Regions from separate parts of the Homo sapiens genome. Here regions 1, 2, 4, 5, 6 and 7 are each linked to region 3. Evidence: promoter capture Hi-C in human tissues and cell types (Jung and others, 2019). All regions are on one chromosome and are shown on one strand. Each heading gives the region's core, a stretch centred on a gene start or on the middle of the fragment in contact. The rest is flanking DNA. Distances are from core to core; before and after follow the strand shown.

The links. Contacts are between HindIII fragments. The study calls those that stand out against the background at their distance.
Region 1: a fragment that was not itself captured here is called in contact with the fragment with the promoter of XYLT1 in region 3 in 1 of the 25 tissues and cell types used here (lymphoblastoid cells).
Region 2: a contact is called between a fragment that was not itself captured here and the fragment with the promoter of XYLT1 in region 3, in 1 of the 25 tissues and cell types used here (spleen).
Region 4: a fragment that was not itself captured here is called in contact with the fragment with the promoter of XYLT1 in region 3 in 2 of the 25 tissues and cell types used here (dorsolateral prefrontal cortex and mesendoderm cells).
Region 5: a contact is called between a fragment that was not itself captured here and the fragment with the promoter of XYLT1 in region 3, in 2 of the 25 tissues and cell types used here (H1 embryonic stem cells and dorsolateral prefrontal cortex).
Region 6: a fragment that was not itself captured here is called in contact with the fragment with the promoter of XYLT1 in region 3 in 1 of the 25 tissues and cell types used here (dorsolateral prefrontal cortex).
Region 7: a contact is called between a fragment that was not itself captured here and the fragment with the promoter of XYLT1 in region 3, in 1 of the 25 tissues and cell types used here (lymphoblastoid cells).

Annotation. Positions count from the first base shown.
Region 1 is chr16:17,059,221-17,061,920 of GRCh38, forward strand. No RefSeq gene overlaps it. Among named protein-coding and RNA genes, the nearest start is that of XYLT1, 410 kb to the right of the region's middle. The HindIII fragment of the contact is 3,096 bases long and covers 1-2,700 here.
Region 2 is chr16:17,138,070-17,140,769 of GRCh38, forward strand. It overlaps XYLT1 (xylosyltransferase 1), which reads right to left. Exons shown (of 12, transcript NM_022166.4): 8 at 286-462. It overlaps LOC102723692 (a long non-coding RNA gene), which reads left to right. Exons shown (of 3, transcript NR_135179.1): 3 at 173-663. Among named protein-coding and RNA genes, the nearest start is that of XYLT1, 330 kb to the right of the region's middle. The HindIII fragment of the contact is 4,981 bases long and covers 1-2,700 here.
Region 3 is chr16:17,469,700-17,472,399 of GRCh38, forward strand. It overlaps XYLT1 (xylosyltransferase 1), which reads right to left and starts at 1,261. Exons shown (of 12, transcript NM_022166.4): 1 at 735-1,261. The coding sequence starts at 1,097. LOC107987234 (a long non-coding RNA gene) reads right to left here and starts at 728. Exons shown (of 2, transcript XR_001752091.2): 1 at 1-728. It overlaps LOC105371106 (a long non-coding RNA gene), which reads right to left. Exons shown (of 3, transcript XR_933144.3): 3 at 1,308-2,405. RefSeq lists enhancers at 41-310, 431-480, 1,255-1,756. The HindIII fragment of the contact is 9,248 bases long and covers 1-2,323 here.
Region 4 is chr16:17,822,740-17,825,439 of GRCh38, forward strand. No RefSeq gene overlaps it. Among named protein-coding and RNA genes, the nearest start is that of XYLT1, 350 kb to the left of the region's middle. The HindIII fragment of the contact is 3,598 bases long and covers 1-2,700 here.
Region 5 is chr16:17,120,730-17,123,429 of GRCh38, forward strand. All of the region lies in intron 10 of XYLT1 (xylosyltransferase 1), which reads right to left. Among named protein-coding and RNA genes, the nearest start is that of XYLT1, 350 kb to the right of the region's middle. The HindIII fragment of the contact is 4,420 bases long and covers 1-2,700 here.
Region 6 is chr16:17,776,716-17,779,415 of GRCh38, forward strand. No RefSeq gene overlaps it. Among named protein-coding and RNA genes, the nearest start is that of XYLT1, 310 kb to the left of the region's middle. RefSeq lists an enhancer at 1-426. The HindIII fragment of the contact is 3,762 bases long and covers 1-2,700 here.
Region 7 is chr16:17,031,032-17,033,731 of GRCh38, forward strand. No RefSeq gene overlaps it. Among named protein-coding and RNA genes, the nearest start is that of XYLT1, 440 kb to the right of the region's middle. The HindIII fragment of the contact is 3,439 bases long and covers 1-2,700 here.

The sequences.
Region 1 (2,700 bases), core at 167-2,666, 410 kb before region 3:
CTTTGAACCCACATGACATTTTATAGTATTTCTGATGGGCTTCTTCCCAACTTGGACTCTAATAATCTCTATTCATTTCTCTCTCCAGTTAGACCGAGTGCCACTCCAGGGCTTGCTATGGAAAAATAAAAACGCAAAATAGAACATTCCAGGCCAGTACATGTAGTAAAGACCGTCATGATGCCAAACATGACAACTTTGGCCTTCTCCAGTGTAGTGATGCCTGCTGCTCTGAAAAGCAGCAGCCTTATTTACAAGAGCTAAAGCTTGGAAGCAACCTAAGTGTCCCTGGATGGATGAACAGATAAACAAAATGTAGTATACACATACAAGGGAATATTAGTCTGCCTTTAAAAAGAAGGAACTTCTTTTTCTTTCTTTCTTATTTTTTGAAGACAGAGTCTCACTCTGTCACCTAGGCTGGAGCGCAGTGGTACGATCATAGCTTTCTGCAGCTTTCAGCTCCCAAGGTCAACCAATCCTCCCTCCTCAGCCTCCCAAGTAGCTGTGACTATGGGTGCATGCCTGGGTAACTTTAAAACAAAAAGTTTGTTTGTTTGTTTGTTTGTAGAGATGAGGTGTCACTATGTTGCTCAGGCTGGTCTTGAACTCCTGGGTTCAAGCAATCCTCTTGGCTCAACCTCCCAAAGTGCTGGGATTACAGGCATGAGCCACCATGCCCAGCCAGGAAGGAACTTCTCACACAACGCTGCAACATGAATAAACCCTGAGGACATTATGCTAAGGGAAATAGGCCAGTCATCAGAGAACAAATGCTGTATGAGTTCACATACATGAAGTACTTAGAACAGTTACATGCATACAGATAGAAAGCAGAATGATGGTTTCCAGGGGCTTGGGGAAGGGGAAATGGGGAGTTACTTTTTAACAGGTGTAGAGTTTTTCTTAGTTTTACAAGATGAAAAGAGTTAGTGAGATGGATGGTATGATGGCTGCATATTATTAAATTAATGCTTTCTTTTTTTTTTTTTTTTTTTTTTTAAGACAGGGCCTTGCTCTGTCTCCCAGGCTGGAGTGCAGTGGTACAGTCTCGGCTCACTGCAGCCTCAACCTCTCAGGCTCCAGCGATCCTCCCACCTCAGCCCCCCCATGTAGCTGGGATTACAGGCATGCACCACCACGCCTGGATAATTTTTATATTTTTAGTAGTGACGGGGTTTCGCCATGTTGACTAGGCTGGTCTTGAATTCCTGGGCTCAAGCCTTGACCTCCCAAAGTTCTGGGATTACAGGCCTGAGCCACCGCGGCCAGCCTATTAAGGTATTTAATACTTCTGAACTGTACAATGGTTAATTAAATTAAGGTATTTAATACTTCAATGGTTATGCTGGTAAACTATATTTTATGTGTTTTTCCCTCTCCCTTGTGGTTTTCCCCTGCGGCCTCCTACAGGGAAAAGAGGGGAGGACCTATATCCTTCTTCGATATCATCTCTATCCTACAGCTTGTAGGATATGGTACAGCTTGTAGGATATTTTTACCACAATAAAAACTTCTTATAAAAAAGCATTGGCCTTGCACAAAAAGGCCAGAGTTCTAGCCTTTCCTGGCAGGAATACACTGCACTGGGATCCCTTGAAGCCCTAGACTAGCCCCCACATGCAGGAGATTTGGAATATCCTCACTAGACATCAGATGAACAGGGGTCTGTGTGACTTCTTTAATTTTCCATCACATATCTTGTCTTGCCCTAAGTTTCCATTCCTGCTGCTGCCTGGGACAGATATACAAGAGAAACTGGTTTTACATAATTTTTTCCATTGTAAATTTATTCTTGGCAAAGAATCAAACATTCAAATTCTTTCACAGGATTATTTCCTTTCTCTAGGTCTCTTTCTCCTTTGTCTCTTGAAGGTGACATCTGAGCTCGTAAAACAGTTTGTTTCTGTCCGTGTGCTGGACATCGTCCTTTCTGGCCTCTGCTGCAGAATTCTGAGTCTCAATTTGACCCTGAGTGCCCTGCACTGGTGTCCACTGCAGAGAAACTGCTCCTTCCTGATATTTTTTGAGCATGTTACTGATCGCCCCTGCTGACATTATAGATCTCTGCCATTGGCTCTGGTCCTAAGGTTACCTCATTCTGTGATCTCCTCACCCTAAGCCAGGCCTCTTCTGCTCTATCAATTCTCTCAGAAATTCTGAGCCCCTCTAAAAGGAAGGAGGCAGGGAATCTTGTTAGGTTTTTCTGCAGGATGGCTATGTTGGGGAGACACCATAACATCCTAATGTATGTTTGGGGTTGGCAAACATTGGCCCAAAGGTTGCTTGTCACATGACTTTGTAAATAAAGTTTTATTGGAACAGAACTACACCCACTCAGTTACATATTGTCTATGGCTGCTTTTGCAGTACAGTGGCAGAGTTGATCGTGGTGACAAAGGTTATATAGCCCGCAAGGCTGAAATATTTACTGTCTGGCCCTTTGCAGAAAAAGTTTGCTGGCCTTTGGTCTTTGTGGTGGAGTCCAGGGTTGTGCAGGACATATCCTATGTGGCTGTATGTGACAGCCCTGGCTTTCTGTACCAGGCTGTAGCAGGTGGGACTCAGTGAGGTCCCTCAGCCATGGCTGTCTGACCAGTGCCATTCCATACCAGCTTGGGGAATGTTGCAAGGAGTTTCTTTTTGGATTCCAGCTTTCTGTCATACCATTTGGGGTTTCCAACTTCAGGTTGAGGGACC
Region 2 (2,700 bases), core at 81-2,580, 330 kb before region 3:
TTTTTAACCTTTCTGTGCCTCACAGTTTTCATATCCCTAAAATGGAATAATAATGAAAGGTCATTTGTTGTTTTTGGGTTAATGAGTCAATGTGGTTAGAACATCCCTGAAGTAAGTGCTCAATAAACACTGGCTATTGTTGATACTGTTAACTATTATTAATTATCAACAGCCAGGTTTGGGCACCATGTGATAAGATGACCTGCAGGTCTGGCCTTGGATTTCTGCAGAGGTTTGTTGGGAAGGCATCACTTAGGAGGCTGGCAGACCATGAGAAAGTCTCACCTGGAAGCGGTGGAAGTCCTGCGGCTTGAAGTCATTGGGGGAGCAGCCGCACCAGTCCACGATGTGCTTGTACTGGCACTTGCAGCCCAGCTTGCGATTCCAGTTGGTGATGCGCAGGTTGTTGTCCACCATGGTGTCGCAGTGGGGGCTGTTCTCCAGGACCGTATGGAAGAAGGACTGCAGGGGAGAGAGGGACCCAGCCTGAGACCTCTCCCAGCCTCCCACAGATGAACTGGGGTGGGAAATGGTGAACCCTTGCTCTGAGTTCATGTAAGAACTGGTTGTTTAAAAGAATGTGGCATCTCATCAGAAGCTGGGCGGCTTCCTGTACAGCTTGCAGAACTGCAAGCCAAATAAACCTCTTTTCTTTATAAATTACCAAGCCTCAGATTTTCCTTCATAGCAATGCAAAAATGTATAACACAACTACCTGACTGTCAAGGGACTCTTATGTTCTCTGCATGCATTTGAGGTCAGCTGCCCATGTGGTCCAACTCAGAGCGCAGGCGGATGCTCTGTCCAACAGACAAATCAAAGGGATTCAAGTCTGACTGACTGACTGGTGTGCTGGAATTTCACCCCTGGGGTAGGGAGACCAGATTGATGGTTGCATTAGACCCAGGGCTTCCTGCATCGCCAGACGGCAACATAGGGAAGGGAGTGGGTGGGGCTGCTTGCTGTCCATGGTACTGAACCAGGTGCCATATTTTCTCCCTAATCCCAGGATTCTTGGCCAACTGCTTTAAGGGATCTGAGAAAGAGGCCATGTTGGATCTGAAAAGAAAAACTAGAGGAGAAACAATCAATCACTGGAGTACTTGAGAGACTGCCAGAGAGTGAGAGAAAGATTTCTATAATAGACAGTCCCAGGCAAATATATTTCCTCCCTGTTCTCTCTCCCTAAGGGAAGCTGTTGGGGAATCTGTGTCTGCCCGTTACAAGTTAATGGGCACAGCCTTCTGATTTCTTCTAAACCAGTCCTCTTGAAGTGGTCTGGGAGAAGGGAGGGAAGGCAGAGATGCAGGAGGTGGGACTGAACAGAGACCCTGGAGTATATGTGCTTGTGTGTGCTGGGGCCAGGGAGGGGCAGAGAAAGCACACACACGGAGCTTTGGTCACCAGTATCGTGGTGGGCGTCTTGATTAAAAATAGCCAAACTCCCAAACAATCTCTTCTAAATGGATGGGTGGGTAAATGAGGCTCCAGCCGCCACCCCCTGCTGACCTTCCTGTGACACTAAATGACAAGCCCATGAACCTGGATTTTAAGCTTGAATTGCCTACAAGCCCAGGGAGGCATACATTCTCCAACAAGCAGTGGGAAGATGTACCCAATTACTGATTGCCCTGTGTCCTTTCATAATGATACAGAAATTCCCTGCAATATAATGGATGAGGAGGTTATCAGAATTGAGAGAAGAGGTGATTGATTTTTGCTGAAATAGGATTAAAAGCTGATTACTTAACATGTGTGCAGAATAGTAAAACCTGGCCCAGTGATGACAAGCTCATCATCCCTCTGGGTGATGGGGGCAGTCAGCCCTCCCCGGAGCTTGGCACTGCCCCAGACACAGGTGAGAGATGTGCTGGGAGTGTGGCCTGCAGAAACACACATAACCTATGTGGTCCCGGGAAGGAACAAGGGACCGTTCATGAGAAATGCCATAGACTCAATAGAAACGGAACCAGCTCTGCACTGTTCTCAAGCTGGATTGGAAATGAGGGTGCAATCAACCTGGAGGTCAGGAAGATGAATCTGGAATCCCTCAACCCAGCTCTGACCGGCAGGCAGCTAAGGGAATGTCAGTGACAATCCTTCAGAACTGGATCCCCTCCCCACTTCTAGATGGGGCTAGGACTGTTTTAGAATACTCTGGATTAATGGAGTATGACTTATGAAACCAACACCCTTTTCTTCAGGGAATAATAGAGCAATGTTCAACATGAGAAAAGGCATGCTTGGTGTAAAAAGGTGGTCATTACATGATTGGTCATTGTGAAGGATGCGTCAAAAGTTGATGTGGCGGCCGGGCATGGTGGCTCATGCCTGCAATCCCAGCACTTTGAGAGGCTGAGGCAGGAGGACCACTTGAGGCCAGGAGTTCAAGACCAGCCTGGCCAACATGGCAAAACCCCATCTCTACTAAAAATACAAAAATTAGCTGGGTGTGGTGGTGGGCGCCTATAATCCCAGCTACTCAGGAGGCTGAGGCAGCAGAATTGCTTGAACTCTGGAGGTAGAGGTTGCAGTGAGCAGAGACTGTGCCACTGCAGTCCAGCCTGGATGACAGAGGAAGACTGTCTCAAAAAAAAAAAAAAAAAAAAAAAAAAAAAAAAAGTTGATGTGGGTGTGTCCTGAAAGGGTCAGCATATACAGTTGTGCAGGTTACACACTACATACCTTTTAGGGGTGCCA
Region 3 (2,700 bases), core at 11-2,510:
TGAACCGGCCGCAACAAGACAGAAAGACAGAGACAACCAGCTAGGAGAAGGAGCCATGCCCTGAAACTGGAGATGGGGAGGAGATAAAGTCACAGAGGGCATGGGAGACGGCAAGGTTAGAGACAGAGAAGGTGAAGACGGAAGGCTCAAACATCCAGAGAAGAGAAACAGAAGACCCAAAGTAAGACCAGACACCCCGGACTGAGTATTGATTCAGGGGCATGGTCGGGGACTTGGGACGCCCAGCTCAGCCCTCATCGCAGGCCAGGACGAACAGAGGGCTCAACTGTCTGCACCCAGCTCGGCAAAAACCAGAGAGATGCTGCTGCGACAACCGCCCAGGAACAGCGGCTGAGGATCCGGGGAGATCCACTCACTCAGGCAGGGAGCGAGTCACCAAGACCTACACGCACGGAGCAAGTCACCTGGGGTCCCCAGCAAGAGTGATGGGGAACAGGAACCCAGCCAGGCTCCGGTAACCCCCAAAGCGCCCCCGCTGGAGAAAACTTCCCCCAGACCCCAAGGGGTCCGTGCTCAGACTCTGAAAGGGGCAGCCCACGACCCCTGAGCCTTGGCAGGGACCCCACCCGGCTTCCCGGGGCAAGAGGCGATGTGGAGTCGGTAGGCTTGCAGAGTCCCAGTCTGATGACCGAGTTCAAGGGCTAGGGGGGCGTGGGGTCGGGCTGCCTTCCTCCCTCCCTCGCCGCGGGGCGCGAGCCGAAAGGGCATCTTACCAGAGCCCGGGCGGGCAGTGCCCCCCGGCTGGCCGGCTGCTGTCCCCGCGGTTCTCCGGGGCCGCCTCCCCGCGCCCGCGCCTGGGGCCCCCGTCCTCCTCCTCCTCCGCCGCCGCCTCCTCCTCCTCCTCGGGCTGCAGCCGGCTCGGCGGGCAGGTCCCGGCGCTCCCGGCGCGGGGCCGGGGCCGGGGGCGGCTGCTCCCCGCCGCCGACCGCTGCGCCCCCGCGGCGCTCCCCGGCCCCGGAGTCGAGGCTGCTGAAATTCCACACGACCAGCGTCTGCAGCAGCAGCACCGTGAGCGCCGCGAGCAGCGCCGAGTGCGAGCGCCGGGCCAGCCTCCGGGCGCACGGCGCCGCCACCATCTTCGGAGCGCGGCCGGCGAGCGAGGCGCGGGGACCCCGGCACGCTCCGGGCCGCCCCCGCGCTCCCCGCAGCTCCCGCGGCCGCCGGCTGCCGCTCGGGCTCCCGCTCGGGCCGCCGCCGCCGCCCCCCTCCCCACACCCCTGTCCCCGCTGGAGGGGAGGGTGATGGGGAAGGCGCCGGGGGGACGCGGGCCGAGGCGGAGAGGGCGGGGCCTGGGGGAGGAGCCGAGGGAGGAAAAGGAGGAGGGAAAGGAAGGGGGTGGGGGCGATCAGAGAAGACAGACACCCCTCAGGACGTAGTGGGAGTAGGATGGGGGGCGAGGGGGACAATTCCCAAGGCGGAAAAAGAGAGGCAGGGGCCGCGAAACAGGGGACCTTTGGTTGAGGGTGGGCCCGCTCAGAATCCAGGGGAGGTCAGGAAGAGAGGGGGTCCCGAGGTCCTGTTTTCCCTGTGGGCCGCTGGAAGGAGGCAGTGCGTGGAGGAAGCTCCTAGCCCCGGAGTTCGCGGTCCAGGGATCTTCTGTCGGTACCAGACCGGTTGGCAGGTGGACACGTGAGAAACATTTCAGGAGTGTCAGAGCCACAGTCTGATCCCTTCATCCTGGGCTTGAAGGGGTGGGGAGGAGGCTTTGGGTGAGTTTCTGGAGTTAATCAGCACAAGCTCTGTGAGTGACTCCTGAATCACACACAATCCCCGGTGCCAACGATGTACTAAGTGTTCACTGAGTCACTTCTCTGGTCCCTGAGGACTCACAAGCCAAGAGACTCCAAACCCAGTTGGCAAGTGGTATAGCGGCAAAAGGGAGACCCGTGGAGTTACTCAACCTTCGCAGGATGCAAGCCCCAAAGGCTGGCCCCGCAGCCTCCCAGCGTGTCCTTTTCCCCATCCATCCTGAAGTCCCCCTTCCTGTCTGCACAGGGCCCAGGTCCTGGGGAAACAGGTCTTGCTCTTGAAAGTGGAGTTCTTTCCCATCCTGACTGGTCTGTCCCGGTGACCTTGAGCCAGGAGGAGGAGGACTCCTCCCTGAGCCCAAGCTTTCTCCTCTGTCGTTTAGGCAGAATGATCCCAATGGACTCAAATTTCATCCCGAGCCTTCTCTGACTCAGTCTTTCTGGTTTTTCCCTCCCTTGTCCTCTTGCCCAGGGCTTTATACACAGCAGCGCAGAACAGTGAGCATATGGGATGGCGTTGGTGTCCCATACGGGACCTAGCACTCTGGGAATACAACAGCAGATCAAATCAGTTTGTGAATTGAGGACTTGGCGTGAATGCTTCGCATCTTGTCTGCTGTGCTTTTTCACCTCATCCTAATTTACAAAGAGAAGAAAGTGGAGTGTAATGAAGGCTCATCAGACAATGAGGCAGGGAGTGGGAAGAGATTGTTTCATCCACTCCACAAGCATCCGTGAATACAAAGCTTGTGTCAGACACTGGGCCAGGTGCACGCATCCAAAGGTGAATGAGGTTTAATCTCATCTTCAGCAAGCCTGAGGTCTAGAGAAGCCTGATGTGGATGTTAATCATTAAAATATAGTGAGATAGGCCTGGGCGCGGTGGCTCATGCCTGTAATCGCAGCACTTTGGGAGGCCAAGACAGGAGGA
Region 4 (2,700 bases), core at 36-2,535, 350 kb after region 3:
ATGTCTAGTGTTCCATTACTGGAACGCTAAGCATGTGGGAGTTATTTATATCCTACTGCTCAAGGTCATCGCTGAGGTCTGATTTCTCACACGTCTGCAATTCAAAAAAATTGCAATCTCTGGCATAAATGGGTTAAACATATCTGACACCTAAATACTGACAGTCACTCATTATCGGTGTGGTTATGGGTGAGTTCCTGAGTTTCTTCCATTCCAAAAAGGAAATAAAAATCTTGCTTCACCTGCATCTCAAGGCTTTTGTGGGGACCTGGGAAGACAGAGTAACCACGAGGTCCCAGAAAGATTTATTGGGCACAAAGTAAGAGAAGTCAGAGATAAAGAAGAAAACAAATTTCTCATTCAAGATGGTATACTGGGGAAAACACTGGACCATTGATATAAAAATACTGAAAGTCATTCATTATCAGTATGGTTATGGGTGAGTCCCTTAGTTTCTTCCATTGAAAAAAGGAAATAAAAATTCTGCTTCTCCTGCATCTCAAAGCTTTTGTGGGGACCTGGTGAGCTAATGGAAGAGGGAATGCTTTGAAAAGAATTGTGATTATTTGGATGTAGAAGGCAAGATGCAGGAGGTGTCACTGGGTGACCCCCAAGTTCCTGACTTGACAAAACAGGTAGATAAGAAAAGATACCCTGGAAGAAAAACACATTTGAGAAGAGAGTTTGGTGGGAGTTGAGTATCCTGTGTTAGTGGAATACCCAAATGGAGATGTACAATAGGCAGCTGGATATTCAGAACACTTGGGCCAGGTGTTCTCCAGAACTGGTCCAATAACCAGAAATTCCATCCTTCTCTCAGCTGGAGTTACTCTGACTGTGACAGCTGCTGCTCCAGTTACTCTATTTATTGTTACTAATCCCCCAGGGCCGCAAGACCCTTCCACAGAACTCTCTCTCATTCCTTTCCACATAAATCAGCAGAAGAACTACACTAAGTCCCAGGTGATAAATGAACCCCTTCCCCAAAGAGTTTGGCTTAAGCCCAAATCAGCAGCTTGCCTGTCGATTTATTGTTCATTTAAATCATTCTTGCCTCTTATGACAAAATGTTAATGACAAAATATAGGTGATCCTCCAATGGAGGGAAAAGCTGTATCTTTGCAACTGGAAATTAGAAATGTATTATTAACAATGAGCATTAATTATATATTTTAATGCTCACAGGAGAGATGTGATTGGGGGATAATTTGCAGAGAGGCATAGGGGGCTCTGAAACCTAGCGCGATCATTTTATTAGACAGATCCTATTTTCTGCAACCATGAATATTTCATTCGGAATATTTACTCCATCTTATTATTCAGCCATTCTTCCTCGGCTAAGCCCCAGATTTAGACAAGTCTTCTCTCTTTCCTGATCTTGTTCTTGAGAGACCGACAGTTATCCAGAGATGATGTATGATTCTGAGAAAGAGTATCCTGAAAACCAAATTATAATTTGCTCTGTCCCCAGGAAAATCCGTATTAGCAATGGAGGCCCTGTGATTACTTAGGGCTGTGCACACTCTATGGGAAAAGGATATGAGGTATCTTAAGTGTTGATATCTCTTGCTCTGGAAAGTCTTCCTAATCCTAATAATCTAATTCTCCAGTCCAAGACCAGATCCAGAGTGCATTGTCCTGCCCCATCAAAGACCCCCACTAGGTTGTCCTAATTACCTGTGACCAAGACACACATCCCTCTGCAAATGTGCCAAGCCTAGATTTCAAGAAGTATTCAGCTCATCAGAACTGAACATTTTAACAAATATTCAGATACATAAACACCCACAACCTACACCCTTGCAAATATGATCAACTTCATGGGAGTAGATGTACTTGCCCAGCATGCAAGTAAGTTTACCCCTACTTCAATGTATTTCATTAAATGAAGTATCTTTCCACCTTTTACTGAGTATTATCTTATTCCTTCCTCACAACCTCACAGCAACATACTCTTCATTCTGTGTACTTTGGGTAGAAGTCAACTGAGCTTCAGAGAGAACATAGAAGCTTAAGAAATAAACTCTTAGCTGGGCACAGGGGCTCCTGCCTATAATCCCAGGACTTTGGGAGGCTGAGGCAGATGGATCACCTGAGGTCAGGAGTTCAAGACCAGCCTGGCCAATATGGTGAAACCCTGTCTCTACTAAAAATACAAAAATTAGCAGGGTGTGGTGGCACACACCTGTAATCCCAGCTACTCGGGAGGCTGAGGCTGAGGCAGGGAGAATCGCTTGAACTCGGGAGGCATAGATTGCAGTGAGCCTAGATTACGCCTTCCAGCCTGGGTGACAGAGTGAGACTCTGTCTCAAAATAAATAAATAAATAAATAAATAAATAAATAAATAAATAAAATGAGCCCTTAAGGGCACATGCTGGTACATGCTAGAACTGAGTTTAAACTAAAGACCAATTCTGAAGTTTATGTATGTAAGATCATCCAACCCACCATTGGGTGAATTTGAGAAAGTTCAAGAAAAAAAAACAAATAAAAAATAATGATAACCCTAATTGTAAACAACAGCAAGTGCCATTTATTTATGACATATTAAAAGCTTTGCACACATTATTTCATTTAGTTCTCCCAACAATCATATCAAGTAGGTACAGTTATCTGCCTTATTTTATTGATGAAAAAAGAATCTCAGAAGGTTAAGCAACTTGACCAGGCACACACAGCTTCTAAGTGTGGGATCAGA
Region 5 (2,700 bases), core at 52-2,551, 350 kb before region 3:
GGACTATATATGGCATGCTCACCAATATGTCTCTAGTGTCTGAAACAGTGCTGAACATAGAGTAGGTGCTCAATATATCTCTATAGAGATCTAAAAATAAAGATATATTGAGCACCTATTGTCTATTGATCGATCAATGATCTATACAGATTGATCATCTACTTATGTGTGTTTATCATCTATCTCTACCAATCTGTCACATTAATCTGTCAACTCTATTGTAACCATTAATCATCTATCCATCTGTTTGCCTATTAACGTATCCACCCATCTGTCTGTCTGTTAATCAATCTATGTATCACCTGTCTATCAATCTATCTTGAACACATATTGAATGAGTAGGGGCTGAACACATGGACTTCCCTCCATGCACTAGTTTCCAACAGATACTAACAAAACAGATGAATGGCCACAAAACTACTTTAGGGTCATATTTAAGGAGGTGATTTTTCACCAGTTAGGGGAAGATGGGAACCCTCCAGAACACTGCCCTTGGATCCTCCAAAGAAATGAGGATAAACACTTCCCTGAAATCGAGTTTTAAAACCAAGATAACCTGGGCAGGAGAGTTCTGGAGCAGCTGACAAACAACCTGGATCTTGTTTTTCAACCGAGGAGCGTGAAGGGTGAGGTGTGGGGCAGCCTGAGCTAGGGCCCTGCTGCTGTCACATCCTCCAAGACCTTCTCAAGGGGCCTCATTGTGGAAGTCCACCACCATCCACTGCAGAATGGTCAATTACCCAAATTCAAATACATATTCAAATTCAAGCTTAACATACTGCTCCCTGGCTTCCAACCAACCAATGGCTTTCCATTGCGTTTATTTATTTATTTTTTGAGTTTATAATGTGTATGTATATGTATATATTTCAATAGGTTTTTGGGGAACAGGTGGTGTTTGCTTACATGAATAAGTTCTTTAGTGGTGACTTCTGAGATTTTGGTGCACCCATCACTTGAACAGTATACACTGCACCCCATGTGTAGTCTTTTATCCCCTATATCCCCTCCCCTATATCCCCCAACCCTTGCCCATGAGTCCCCAAACTCACTGTATCATTCTTAAGCCTTGATTTCCTCATAGCTTAGCTCCCTCTTATGAGTGAGAACATACAACGTTTGCTTTTCCATTCCTGAATTACTTCATTTAGAATAATGGTCTCCAATTCCATCCAGGTTGCTGCAAATACCATTGTTTCGTTCCTTTTTATGGCTGAGTAGTATTCCATGGGGTATATATATATATATGCGCACACACACACACACACAATTTATTCACTGATTGATGGGCTGCTTCCATTTTTTTTGCAATTGTGAATTGTGCTGCTATAAACATGCGTGTGCAAGAATCTTTTTTGTATAATGACTTACTTTTCTCTGGTAGATAGCCCACAGTGGAATTGCTGGATCAAATGGTAGAACTACTTGTAGTTCTTTAAGGAATCTCCACATTGTTTTCCATAGTGGTTGTCCTAGTTTACAGTCCCACCAACAGCATAAAAGCGTTCCCTTTTCACCACATCCATGCCAACATCTGTTATTTTTTGGTTATGGCCATTCTTGCAGGAGTAAGGTGGTATTGCATTGTGGTTTTGATTTGCATTTTCCTGATCGTTAGTGATGTTGAGCATTTTTTCATATGTTCGTTGGCCATTTGTATATCTTCTTTTGAGAACGGTCTATTCATGGCCTTAGCCCACTTTTTGATGGGATTGTTTTTTCTTGCTGATTTGAGTTCCTTGTAGATTCTAGATATTAGTCCTTTGTTGGATCTACAGATTGCAAAGATTTTCTCCCACTCTCTGGGTTGTCTGTTTACTCTGCTGATTATTTCTTTTGCCTTGCAGAAACTTTTAAAATTAAGTCCTATCTACTTATCTTTGTTTTTGTTGCATTTGCTTTTGGGTTCTTGGTCATTAAGTCTTTGCCTAAGCCAGTGTCTAGAAGGGTTTTTCCAATTTTATCTTCTAGAATTTGTATGGTTTCATGTCTTAGATTTAAGTCTTTGATCCATCCTCAGTTGATTATTGTATAAGGTGAGAGATGAGGATTCGGTTCCATTCTTCTACACGTGGCTTGCCAATTATTTCTGCACCATTTGTTGAATAGGGTGTTCTTTTCCCACTTTGTTTTTGTGTGCCGTGTTGAAGATCAGTAAGTATTTGGCTTTATTTCTGGGTTCTCTATTCTGTTCCACTGTTCTATATGCCTTTTTTTATACCAGTACCATGCTGTTCTGGTGACTATGGCCTTATAGTATGCTTTAAGGTTGGGTAATGCAATGCCTCCAGATTTGTTCTTTTTGCTTAGTCTTGTTTTGGCTATGCAGGCTCTTTTTTAGTTCCATATGAATTTTAGGATTGCTTTTTCTAGTTCTGTGAAGAATGATGGTGGTATTCTGATGGGAATTGCATTGAATTTGTAGATTGCTTTTGGCAGTATGGTCATGGTCACAATATTGATTCTACCCATCCATGAGCATGACATTTGCTTGTGTCATCTATGACTTCTTGCAGCAGTGTTTTGCAGTTTTCCTTGTAGAGGTCTTTCACCTCTCCTTGGTGGGTTTGGGTTTGTTCTTGTTTCTCTAGCTCATTAAGGTGTGACCTTAGATTGTCTATTTGGGCTCTTTCAGACTTTTTGATGTGGGCATTTAATGCTATGAACTTTGCACTTAGCACTGGCTTTGCTGTATCCCAG
Region 6 (2,700 bases), core at 31-2,530, 310 kb after region 3:
TAGGCAATTAACCTAATGAATTAATGTCAGGAGTCGGGTGAGGAATGGGGATGGTGTGTTTATTACATGCAGGCACTATTTTTAGTTTTTAAATGGATTGCCTCATTTAATTGTGTCTAGCCTTTAACACAGTCATTGTTATTTCTAACATTGTACAGAGGAGGGAATTGAGGCACAGAAAGCACCTGCCAACTGGAGGCAGAGCGGCCAGAATTCAAGCCCACGCAGTATGACTCTAAAGCTTACGGTGGTGGGAGGTGGGGGGCTGTTTCCACTCTGCTCCAATTCTGCACAAAGTCATGCTGCCCTTTACTCAGCTTTCCCTGCCAGGACAGCCTGGCACAGTCCCTGTGTTCCCTCTGAAATAGCTTCACTGCTACTCACTCTCAGTGGGCCTGACTCCCGGGGCACCGAGCCCTGAGGGTCACGATGAGTGCTTTCAAGTTCCAAAGCGGTCTTATACACAAAGCCAACCGCACCGGGGGAAACTGCCAGAGGCTTCCCCAGGGTTGGGACTTCCAAAGTGGGGGCAGTCTTTGTCTTCAACCAAACCAGGCTTCACAGAAAAGCACGAGGAGAGCCCAGAGGGGAGATCTTAGGGGTGTTTTCAGAATATCATGAAAGTCTTCTCTGACAAAAAAAAAAAAGAGAGAACTATGAGCACCTTCCCCAATCCCCTCCCTTTCAGTAGTTACCGAAGCAGAGATGGTGTGTGTTTCAGAGGCATCTCCTGACATGATTGCCCTGATGTTTACAATAATGATCAGATCATTTTCCCACAGCCATTTCATCCAATGAGCCCAAATAGGATTACTGAGAAATTGCAAGGTCTTGCAGGAAATTTCTCTTCTGACCTTGGGCATTGTTAGGATGACTCACAGGAAGCAAGATCCCCTTTCATTGTTAGGGAGGACAATTCTGCAGCCTCTTCTCCAAACAGGGTGATCCCAAAGTGGTAAGGAAGAGACATTCTGAATGGCAATCATTTATCACCTGTGCACCCAGACACAACCACCCACTGTGCCCACATGATGGGGAGACATGGCGTGTGACTGTTTCTGTGAGTCTCCACTGTGAAGCAATGTCAGCTTCTCTTATGCAATACCCTCAGCTTCAGCGAGATGCAGAGAAAAAGGTTATACTAGAGCACAATCAGTTCTCCTTCAAAGACTTTTTTCTTTTTCTTTTTCTTTTTTTTTTTAATTTTTTAAGACGGAGTTTCGCTCTTGTTGCCCAGGCTGGAGTGCAATGGTGTGATCTCGGCTCACTGCAACCTTTGCCTCCTGGGTTCAAGCAATTCTCCTGCCTCAGCCTCCTGAGTAGCTGGGATTACAGGTGCACACCACCAAGCCTGGCTAATTTTTGTATTTTTAGTAGAGATGGGGTTTCACCATGTTGGCCAGGCTGGTCTCTAACTCCTTACCTCAAGTGATCTGCCCGCCTCAGCCTCCCAAAGTGCTGGGATTACAGGTGTGAGCCACCATGCTTGGTCTTAAGACTTTTCTTCTTAAAAACACAGCTTGATAAGTAGATGAGGATAGTGAAGACCATATGAGAAAAGAAGGATGAGGGCAGATTTGTACTGTCAGATACCGAAATGCACACTTTAGGTACAATAATTGTAATGATAAATATGTATGGGCAAGAATTGGCAAAAGGATCAATGAACTAACATATATAGCTCCAAAACAAATAGTACACATTCTTTCTTTCTATCCCTTCTTTCTTCTACACCTGCACGCACATACATGGGCACACACATGTACACAATAAGTTCAGCACTGTAAATCAATAGGAAGAGGAAGATTCATCCATCAGATCAATTAATGTACCCTTGGGAAAACATAAATCACTCTAGGTATTTCAAACAGTAGGGACTTTAATACAGGGAATTGATTACAAATGTGTAGAAAAATAAGAGGAGCAAAGTAGAGATTGCCCAGGGATTAACACCTGTAGGAAGCCAGTACATTCTCTAGAGCTGGATGATGAAAAGAGGTATTATCAAGAAGTCAAGAGTTTACAATACTGCTGATGCTGTCGCCAGAAGCAGAAAAACAGTTTCTACACTTTTCCCATTTGTGAATCTCATGTGATCGACCCCACTGGTCACCATCGACCCATACCCAGCCGCCAAGGAACTCTGGAAATATAGTTTTCAGGTTCCCCGCTGTGGTGTAGAGTGGAATAGACATAAGGACAGGCATAGGGCTGAGATTTGACAGACCATGTTTGGCAAAGAGGATTTATTTGATAATGCTACAGAAGGCAGTGAGCTGGTAACTGAGCAAAAACAAACATTTTCGCTTCTTGCTGTAAAGCAAAATCAATCCCAAGTTGTGCAAAGGGTTAAACATACACACCAATATTCAAAGACAGAAAGGAAAAGAACAGCAAAACAGAAAAATATGAGGAAAATGTTATGATTTAAGGGTGACCAATAACTTTCTAAATATTGAGGCAATGAAAAAGTTATGAAAGAAAAAATTATATATTAGAATAAAAATAATTTCTAATGGTAAGAGAGATGATTACGAATCAAGTAATCTGGAAGGCAGATTTACAATATATATTAAAATGAGCTTAAAACCCAATGTATTACCAAATAAAGATGAAACTGTAAACACCAGTAATTCTACTGGAGAAACATGTGCATACAATGGAATACTATGAAGCAGGGAACAGGATAAATTTTAGTAT
Region 7 (2,700 bases), core at 24-2,523, 440 kb before region 3:
GTCACAGCAGACTGGAGCTTCAGGAATTATTAAGCAGGCAGTGGGAAGAACAAAGGGGATAATGTTCTTTCCATTGAAGTAATTTTTCTCAATGCAAAATGCTTTTTCGGAGTCCATGTGGGTTAATTTCCACCCATTTTGCATGTAGGAGACATGCATCCAAGTCCTCAGTCTCAGAGTTGGAAGAAATATTTTTTCTTTATTTTCCTTATTTCTAGTAAACTTCACCCCAAACCCTCAAACAGTTAGGTTGCTTAAAATAAAAACAATTTTGGTCAATACTGAGGCTTCCCTACCCCTAGAGTTTGTTTATTACAGTAGTTATTGAATTGAATCCTTGAGATAGGACTTTCTGTTGATGTGCATACTACCTGAAACCATGTGACCCTCTTCTTCTATTTTAACATTGGAGCCCAAGACCCTTTTGTGGGGTTGCTGTCCCCTTACCCTGGGGTCCTGCTTTCAGAGGGGTACTTGATAGCTTCTCCTTTGATATCTAAATTTCTTGGGTGCTGCTCCTTCATAAAGGCCAAAGTTCCCACTGTTTGCAAGACACTCACTTCCCAACTGCAACCCCCTTTCCATTTCTAGGGGTGGAAATCCTGCCTCTTCCTGCTAGTTTTCCCTTCCTTGGTCTGATAAATCCAGTTCATGTCTTTATCTTGTGAATCCTCTGCAAATTGCTATGGCAAAAATCCCTAAGATCTCTTTTGAGATGGAAGACCAAACATACAGCAAAGAAAACACAGATTAATAATTCAAAAACATATCTGCCACTGGTAAAAAAAAAAAAAAAAAAAAAAATTAGAATCAAACCATTAATTTCTCCTTACACTTTCTCCTGCAGCAGTGAATATACTACAAAGCTTGGTTTCTGTGATAATAGGAATAAGGCTTACTGAGCTATATTGCATTTCCTAATTGGATCATTCTTCAACCATTTTATCTCATGGGTATCTACCCTGCCTTTTATGGTTGGGGTGGTTTTCTTTTCCTCCCCCTCTTAGATCTTAATTTTGCAAACAAGGACTGAGAAGTGGCATTAAGATCAGCCTCATTATCACATTGCAGTTTGGCACCTTATTCCTCTCTCCATCTTTATTAGCAGAGTCTCTGATTTTTTTAAGCTTATTTGCATAATTTCTAACATCCCGGGTTTATTCAGAAGGCCTTTTGATGAAGGAATGGAGAAGGTCTTCTCTACTCCAAAGGCCTCTTCATTAGGACACAGTGGAACACAGCACCTAAGAACACAGACTCCGCAGGCAACTGAAAAGCCTAGATTTGAGTTCTACTTAGCCGCTTCTGGGCTGCGTGACCCTTGGGAAGTTGTTCAACGTCTTTGAACCTCAGTTTCTCCATGTGTAGCAATAGCAGCTACATCTCATGACCAATCTGAATCACTCCATGGAAAATACAACAGTGTCCTGTTCATGCTATTGGGCGTTGTTATCATTATCCTTTTCTCTTTATTAATGTAAACATTTTACTGAAGAATGACGTACATACAGAAAAGTGCCTGTGTCATAAGTATAAAGCTCAAGGGGTTTTCAGAAATTGACACATCTGAGTCACCAGCATCCAGATCAACAAACAAAGCATTGGCAAAACTCCTAAGAGCACTTTCACAGCTCTTTCCTGCCACTAAATCCTTCCCCGCAAGGGGTAACCACTCTCCTGACTTGTAACAATTGCAGGTTAGTTTTACCTATTTTTGAACTTTATATAAATGGAGTCAAACACGATGCACTATTTTTGTCTGATTTCCTTTTCCTGATATTTTTCATGAGATTCATTCTCTGTTGTAGTCAGCAGATATAATTCATTTTTAATTGCTGTATAGTGTTCTATTTTGGGAATATGTCACAATTTTTATCCATTCTACTTTTGGTGGACATGTATGTTGTTTCTGATTTTGGGCTATGAAATATAGCAATGCTATAGTATATCTAATGCATATATTTTGGAGAATTTGTATATGTATACATTTTTATAGGCATATATTTAAGCATGAAATTACTGAGTCACAAGTTATGGATCTGTTTAACTTTAGTAGACACTGTCAGTGTTCCCAAGTGGTTGTAAAATTTACACTCCCTCCAACAATGAAAAATAATTCCAGTTGATCTACATTCTCACCAATGTTTGGTATCATTGATTTTGTTCATTTTAAACAACATGGTGGGTGTGTAGTCATATTGTGGGTTATCCATCAGATAGCTGATATTTTATTTTTTCAACTTTTCATTTGGAAATAATTTCAAACTTACAGGCAAGTTGCGAGATTAGTACAAAATTGTATGCTCTTCACCCATATACATCAACTGTTCATCATTTTCCACATTTGCTTTATTTTCTCTCTGTAGGCGTGCACATACTGCTTTTTAAAAATATGAGGTAAGTTTCAGATATCATGCCTCATTTACCACTAAATGTTTCAGAGTGTGTGTACCAAGAACTATCTCTTAAATAAACACAGTATAGTAATCAAAATCAGAAAAACTCACCACTCATACGATATAATTATGTAACCTGTAGATCTTATTAAAATTTTTCCAAATATTCCTGTAATGTTTTTGTAGCATTTTTTTCATGCTCTGGATTTAATCCAGGATCATGCATTACATTTAGTTTTCATGCCTCTGTAGTCTTCTTTAATATGGAATGTTTCCTGTCTCTTGTCGTCTTTCAGGATATTCA